Linked DNA regions of Homo sapiens: region 1 is linked to region 2. The links are contacts of gene promoters, found by promoter capture Hi-C in blood cells and fetal thymus (Javierre and others, 2016). All regions are on one chromosome and are shown on one strand. The core of a region is centred on a gene start or on the middle of the fragment in contact, and the rest is flanking DNA. Distances in the headings are between cores, read along the strand shown.

Region 1 (3,931 bases), core at 1,339-3,838, 77 kb after region 2:
ATGGCCTCAGGGTCCTAGAAAGCCACCTCTCTGTCATAGGCAAGTGAACACTCCTGTGCTCCACTCCCACACTGCTCAAGGCCCATGACCACTTTCGGGAGGGGTCCTGCTCCATCCGTTCCAGGCCACACAGGGCAGCTCCAGGCCCACGGCCCTTGCATCCCCAGCCAGGGGTTAAGGGAGCCCAACAGGAGCCCAGAAGCCCAGAGCCTGAGGACCTGCTGCTTTCACAGAAAAGGGGGAAGTCTGATAAGCCCCCTCCCACCCCCCCATCAGCCCTCCCAGTCCTGCAGCTGAGGCGGGTACCAGGACACCAATAAGACCCATGTGCAGATGTCTGAGGAAATGCTTCTTGTTTCAAGGATCCCACAGTGGGGCTGCAGGGGCTTATCTACTCTCCCTCAAGGCAGGGAGAAGCTCAGTGTCCCCAGGATGTGGAATCACACTCAGCCCTACAGGGACTGGGGAGCCCAAAGTATCTGCCCACTTTGGGTCCAGTCTCCTCCCGTGGGCCTCCAAGCGGCCCTCCATCATGCAAGCTTCGCTCTGGTCTTGCACCCTCCAAGAAGTGCTTGCCAGCTCCCTCTGTTCTTCTGTATCCCCCAAAGCACCCATTGCAGGGTGGGGGAAACAGCATGTGATCAGGAAAACCTTACTGTATGGTGTGTAAATAGGATACCATGGTCTGGAAAACCCAATATTCTGTTTAAAAGTGAAAGAGTTACTATAAAGGCCATATGTCAGCTTCCAATTTTCAAAAGACAAAGAAATACACACTGCTAAAGTTCAGTGGTGCATAATGTCATCTTTCTTTGATGACTGAACTCAGAGAAGGCACATGGGGATCCAGCAGCGTCTCGGGCATCATTCTGGAAGTTGTTGGGGAAAACAGAGGCAGAAGCAGAAGTCCCACATCTTCCCAAGTCCCCTCGTCTCTGCTTGCCTCTCCCTGTGCAGTGCACAGCTTGGGGACACATACTTTAGGGTAAGAGCGCACCAGATACAAAGGTGGGGAAGAGTGCTGCAGAACCCAAGAGGGATGTGGGTCTGATTAGATTTTGGAAGCTCCTCCCAAGAAGGTGCTCCTACAGCCTCTTTCAGCAGCGACTGGAAAACCCCAGAAAGGTCACCTGAGATTTTCCCTCTGCCATCCACGGTAGACTCCACCTCTAATGGGGTCAGTCTAGCAAGAATATGGGGCCTGGATTGTCTACCCACCAAAGCCAGGCCAAGACAACCTGCTTGGTGATGCAGGAGAGCAGCTTTGCACTCCCCTGCCTGTCTTATACTCAACAAAATCCATGGCATGGGCCATGCTCCTCTCCCCACCAAAGAAACTGACAAAGGAAAACAAGCCACAGAGAGGTGAGTGATAGCATTAGCCTCAGGGCAGCCCCAAAGCAGAGGGAACTGGCCAATTCCGCAACATCTGTCCCTAGCCAGTGGGACAGGCACAGGCTAAGGACAGAGTCCTGGCAGTCTCCTGAAGTTGCTGCTGGCCAGGTGGTCACACAGGGCACCAAATCCAGCTCCCCTGTCTCTACCGCTTTCCGCAGGGGCTCATGGTTGAGGATCTGCTGAAGTTAGTCAGGGGAGAGGAAACAGTCTCCTCCTTGAACTACAATCCAGGATGCCTCCCAGGCGAGTGAAGGACCTAGGGACTGGAATCTCATTGGCCCCAGGGCTGTGCCCCTGGACTCGCTCTCGGGAAGCCAAGCCAGGTCCAACTGATAACCGCATTCCTTGAGGACCCTCGGCCGGGAGTGACTGCCAGTGGGCAGACAGGAAGAAAAGAGCCCTGGCCCAGATCAGGCAGGCATCCCTGCTTCCCCGCCCACCGACTGTCCCCGGAGACCAGCCTCCTTCTCTGCCTGCGGAGGAGAGCAGTGGGGACATTATGCCAACAGGTCCCCTTCGGCGGGCCTCACCCGGCCAGCCTTCCTCCGCCCTGCCCTGAGGCCCCACATTCAGCGGAAGCGCCGAGGCACCTGCTGCCAGACAGGGCTCCATCCCCGCGGAAGGGGCCCCTGGGCGGTGCCCCTCGGTGCCCCCGGCTTCCTCGGTTAGGGATGGGGCGCCCCCCCCGGCCCAGCACGCCCCCTGGCCCGGCGCGCCCCCCGCGCCCCCTCCCCGCGCTCACCTGGCGCAGGTGCTGCAGCAGCGTCCCCGCCTCCTCCCGCCGGCCCTGGCGCACCATCCGCAGCAGCTCCTGGACCATGCCGACTCGCCGGTGGTAGGGGGGCATCCCCGCGCCCGCGCGCCCCGCCTTGTCCCCGGCGCGCAGCAGCAGCGACGCCCAGAAGTCCGGCCGTTCGCGTCGGGGGCCCGGCGCGGCGCCGGGGCTGGCTCTCTCCGCCAGGCTGCCCTTGGTCTGCCGGGTGCCCATGCCGCCGCCGCCCGCCGGGACTCTCCGCTCTGGGCCGCGAGGCCGCGTCCCCGCCAACCGCCCGCCCCTCGGCCGCCCGTGCGCGCTCGCCTCCCGGGCTGCAACTTTGGGGGAACTGTTGCGCGCGGGCGTCGCGGGGGCGGGCGGGCGGGCGGCTGTCGGCGCTCCCCGCGCTCCTCCCTCTTGGCTACCCGGGCGCGCTCCCCGGGCGCTCGCCGCCGGCCCGCCCGCCGGCCCCGCCCCGGCCCGGCTCGGCCCGCCCCGCCCCCCGCCTCCGCGCCGGAGCTCCGCGGCGTCGCGCGCCTCCCTCTTCTCGGGCTCCCGCTCCTTCCCGCCCCGCGGCTCCGGGCTGGGGACCACCACCAGGCGCCCCCTGCCTGCGTCCTCTCGGCAGTCGCGCCTCCTGCGGGCGGCAGTGCTGCGCTTCCCGGGGCCGTGGCGCGGGGGCGAGGGGAACAGGCAGGCCCCATGGGCCGTCGCTCTCGGTCCCCACCGGGCTCCCCGACGCTTCCACCACCGCGCGCCCGGTGCGTCGGGCGAGATGGGGAAAGTTTGGAGCATGGGGGTGTGTGTGTTGGGGGGCTCTCTTAGGCCCAGAGTCGGGTTTCTCAAGGTGGGTTCCGCTGAGCCTCAGCGCCCAAATCGTCGGAGGCGCTGGTTAAAAACGCAGGCTCTAAGGCCTCCACCGAGACCTACTGAATGATAATCTCCTCGGTGGGGCCTGGGATCCGCCTTTTTAGCCAGCATGTTGGGTGATTCCCATGCACGCTCCTTTGAGACCTGGCCTGCTTGCAGGGCGCTGTAGTGGTGTGGTTGGTGCGTAAACCTGGAAACTGTGCGAGCTTATGGGTTGTGTGCGTGCCCTTCTATGGAGAGGGCCTGTTGCTTCCATCATGCTCTCAAAGCATCTGGACCGGAGAGGTGTGAACTCCTGTGTTCTCTTGTTCTCACTCTCACAGCCCTGGAGAAGGGTCCCTGGGGTAGTCCTGGTACAACAAAGCAAACGCACGTCTGCGAGTAGGCCCAGCGGTACACCCTGCTGGCCCACCTTCCTCCCCGTGCCTCTGCCAGGCCCAGTCTGTAAGGGACCAGAGCCCTGGGATCTCATGGTGTTGCCAGGGCTTGCCAGAGTGAAGGCGAAGGCAGGTGGGGGAGCTTCTCTGTTGCAGACCACAGGCCGCCCTGGTCCCAGCGCAGGGCAGAAGCAATTGTGCAAGCTCGCCTCTGACCCCAGCTCTGGGTGTTGCTTGAGGGTGTAAGGGCACGTGGGCTGTAGGGGCAGGAGGCTGGATCCCAAATCACAGGGAGCTGAGCCCCACTACTTAGTGAGCACTGAGTATCAGGCGAGTCTTCAGCTTCTTGAGTCCTGATTCTTCCTGTCAGGCTAGGATAATAACACTGCCAAGAATTGGGAGAGTAAACTCGGTGGACACTGCTAAAGGAAAAAATTATTTAATGACATGAGTTAAAGCATCGTAAGGAAGACTTTATTCAGGACCATTACCATAGGTGTAGGGACCTCTGCTATGAGATTTTGCAGTTGCA
Region 2 (3,718 bases), core at 630-3,129:
AACAAGAATGAAACTCCGTCTCAGAAAAAAAAAAAAAAAAGAAAGAAAAAAAGAAAAATTTGTCATCTGTGTGCTATCCGATATGGTAGCCACTAGCCACATGTGCCAACTGAGCATTTAAAATGTGGCTAATGGGACAGCAGAACTGAATGTTTACTGTTATTTTATTATGTATTTATTTTTGAGACAGAGTTTCCCTCTTGTTGTCCAGGCTGGAGTGCAATGGCACAATCTTGGCTCACTGCAAGCTCTGCCTCCCAGGTTTAAGCGATTCTCCTGCCTCAGCCTCCCAAGTAGCTGGGATTACAGGCACGTGCCACTACGCCTGGCTATTTTTTTTTATTTTTAGGAGAAATGGGGTTTTGCCATATTGGCCAGGCTGGTCTCGAATTCCTCACCTCAAGTGATCCACCTACCTTGGCTTCCCAAAGTGCTGGGATTACAGGTATGAGCCACCGCGCCTGGACTAATTTTGTATTTTTAGTAGAGATGGGGTTTCACTATGTTGGTCAGGCAGGTCTGGAACTCCTGACCTCAGGTGATCCACCCACCTCAGCTTCCCAAAGTGCTGGGATTACAAGCGTGAGGCCTATTATAATTGATTTAAATCTAAACAGTCATTGTGGCTAGTGACTATCTTATTGGATGGCGCAGGCCTAGAGTGTAATGTGCATGACAGGGTTGCCATGAGTGACGGATAGCGATGGAGAAGGGCATCTGGACTTTGAGGGCTCATGGTATGGAGTTTGCATTTTATTCCAAGCACCATGGGTGAGGTTTTGTGATTAAGTCAAGGCGTTAGGTGACCTGGTTTTCTTTTTTTTTCTTTTTTGACACAGAGTCTCGCTCTGTTGTCCAGGCTGGTGTGCAGTGGCACAATCTCAGCTCACTGCAACTTCCGCCTCCCAGGTTCAAGCGATTCTCCTGCGTCAGCCTCCCAAGTAGCTGAGATTACAGGTGCCCACCACCATATCCAGCTAATATTTGTATTTTTAGTAGAGATGGGGTTTTGCCATGTTAGCCAGGCTGGTCTTGAACTCCTGACCTCAAGTGATCCATGCACCTCGGCCTCCCAAAGTGCTGGGATTACAGGTGTGAGCCACTGCGCCCGGCCCTGGTTCCCATTTTTAAAAGGTCACTTCAGTTGCTATAAGGAGAAATGGATTATGAGTGTGGGGCAAGAATGAAGCAGGGAGACCAGTTTGGAGGTGGCTGCAGTTGCCCAGGGGAGCAGTGATAGTGGCTTGGACCACTCAGAAAGACAAATTTTGGAGGAAGAGCTGATGCCAGGTTTTGGGAGTGAGGGAGAGAGATTCCTAGGGCTACTTCGGTGGTGGTTGGGTCCCCAAGCTCCAAGACTGAGTCCAGACCAGGGCCCCGTTGGTGGTGAGGTCTGATTTTAGCAGTGCGTGCCCACCTCCTTGTCTCCACCTGCTGGCTGGTGCTTGGAGCACCTTTAGGGGAACTTTAGCCATCAGAGTCCTGGGGTCAGGAGGCTGGGAGAAGGTCCTGGGAGGTGGGAAAGTCCCCCAACTGCTGGGTGGATGGGTGGGTGGGACTGTGTTCCCAGGGGCATCTGCTGGGCTGAGCCTCTCCCTGGGGGCTGTCCACATCAGCTTTCTCCCCTGCCATGGGTCAACTCAGGCCCATTTATGGGCCACACGGCTGCTTGGAAGGCATGTGGTGGAGAAGGGGAGGAGATAGCTGTCAGTGGACTTGGGGAAGAATCCCCCATCCATGGCAGCTTCCATGGGTGGCAAGTCCCCAGCATCCAAGGGCTGCCTCTGAGTGTCACCCACCCCCACCTGAGACCTTAGTGGCTAGAAGGGGGAGGGGTGGGGGTGGAGCCTGATTCGCAGCAGGGTGTGTCCAGATGGTCAGTCTCTGGTGGCTAGCCTGTCCTGACAGGGGAGAGTTAAGCTCCCGTTCTCCACCGTGCCGGCTGGCCAGGTGGGCTGAGGGTGACCGAGAGACCAGAACCTGCTTGCTGGAGCTTAGTGCTCAGAGCTGGGGAGGGAGGTTCCGCCGCTCCTCTGCTGTCAGCGCCGGCAGCCCCTCCCGGCTTCACTTCCTCCCGCAGCCCCTGCTACTGAGAAGCTCCGGGATCCCAGCAGCCGCCACGCCCTGGCCTCAGCCTGCGGGGTAAGTCGGTGGGCAATGCTGGGGACGTTGGAGGGGGCCGGGTCTCCAAGCCTGACAGTGAATGATGGGGTGGGGAAGGCCTAGTGGGCTCCTGGCTTCTACAGCCTGGAGCCAGGGTCTGTGTGGGGCTCCAGCACCCTCTCCCTGGACCTCCACACCCCTTCCTCTGCTGCCAGGGTGGGTGAGGGTCCCAGGAGGTGGGGTGGGGGCTGGACAGACAACTGTTGCTGCTGGGGCTTGGGAGTCTAGGGCTGGAGGAATGGGCCAGGGTTTGGTTGGGGACACAGATGGGCTAAACGGTATGAAACGGAAAGAGCACCCTTCTGCCCCAGTGTGTGTAGAAAGGGTGGTGGGTCACATCTGCAAACTGAGGCAGCCAGGCAGCTCCCCACCTCCCATGTTTCCATGGGAAAATACCCCACCCGGGTCCCCAGGGCCTGGTCCCAGCCTACCCTCTCCACTTCCCTCTGCTGGTGCCGCTCCTCTCTGCTCTCTGCCCCCTGCCCCCTGCCCCCTTCTCCACCCTTCTGTCTCCTTACCACTCTTTGACTCCTTCTTCTTTCTGATCCTGCTCACTGGGCCCATGAGGGTTCCCCAACCCTGACCGAGGCCCCACCCTTGCCAAGTGATGGAGGCTGTGGTTTCAGTTTTCCTGTGAGGGTGAGATTGTGCTGTTTGCTGAGCTTCCTAGGCCAGCCTAGGGCCTGAGGCAGCGTGGTGGAGAGAGCCTGGGCCACAGGCTAGGGGCCTCCCTCCCTTCGTGAAGCCCCCAGAGGCCCTGAGGCACACAAAGGTAGTATTCGATGCCTTCAGAGCTGAATCAGACTGAAAATATAGACAGACCCTGAAAGGCTTTGAAAACGGAAGAGGAACGTCATGGTAGACGCATGGTGTCAGATCCGGCTCTGCCAACAACTGGCGACCTTGGGAAAGCCACTCCCCCTTTCTAAGCCTTAGTAGTCTTGGCAGCAAAATGAAGGGTTTGATAGTCTAGTGGTTTTCCCAGTTATTTCTTCTTAGAGCTCCCCTTCTTTGGCGAGGGGTTGAGTGACTGGCCCCATCCCAGTCATCGCACTTTTATCTGTTGGAATATTGGCTGCCAGGCAAGACGTTGTGTAAAGAAAGGGTTGTGCTGTTAATGTAAATGGTAACAGGGGTTGTGACCCCTCAGATTCCAGGAAGTCCCAGAGGAAAAGTCGGGGACAGTCATGGCTCTTCCTGGGGGACAACATCAAAAGGGTGGCCCTATTGGTTCCCTGTTCCTCACCCCACAGGCCTCCCTCCCTCTCCTCACCCCTGCTGCTCATCCCTCCTGGCCCACTTCCCCTGCATTGGGGCTGGGCTCCCACACAGTGGGTGGACCTACTTGCACTTGGCATTTTTGCCATTAGAAGTAATGAGAAGTAATGGCAAAAACCGCAATTTTTTTTTTTTTTTTTTTTGAGACAGAGTCTTGCTCTGTTGCCCAGGCTGGAGTGCAGTGGTGCCATCTTAGCTTCCGGGTTTAAGCAATTCTCCTGCCTCACCCTCCCTAGTAGCTGGGATTACAGGCACAAGCCACCATGCCCAGCTAATT

What was found. Contacts are between HindIII fragments. The CHiCAGO score rates a contact against its expected background, and 5 or more counts as called.
Region 1: a contact is called between the fragment with the promoter of LRRC75A here and the fragment with the promoter of TRPV2 in region 2, in 1 of 17 cell types (neutrophils). The highest score is 5.2, in neutrophils.

The regions. Positions count from the first base shown.
Region 1 is chr17:16,489,605-16,493,535 of GRCh38, forward strand. It overlaps LRRC75A (leucine rich repeat containing 75A), which reads right to left and starts at 2,589. Exons shown (of 4, transcript NM_001113567.3): 1 at 2,141-2,589. The coding sequence starts at 2,386. All of the region lies in intron 2 of LOC124903936 (a long non-coding RNA gene), which reads left to right. RefSeq lists silencers at 2,192-2,251, 2,362-2,411, 2,502-2,841. The HindIII fragment of the contact is 6,898 bases long and covers 538-3,931 here.
Region 2 is chr17:16,413,692-16,417,409 of GRCh38, forward strand. It overlaps TRPV2 (transient receptor potential cation channel subfamily V member 2), which reads left to right and starts at 1,880. Exons shown (of 15, transcript NM_016113.5): 1 at 1,880-2,142. RefSeq lists enhancers at 1,711-1,830, 2,781-2,850, 3,111-3,160, 3,501-3,610 and a silencer at 2,551-2,670. The HindIII fragment of the contact is 16,870 bases long and covers 1-3,718 here.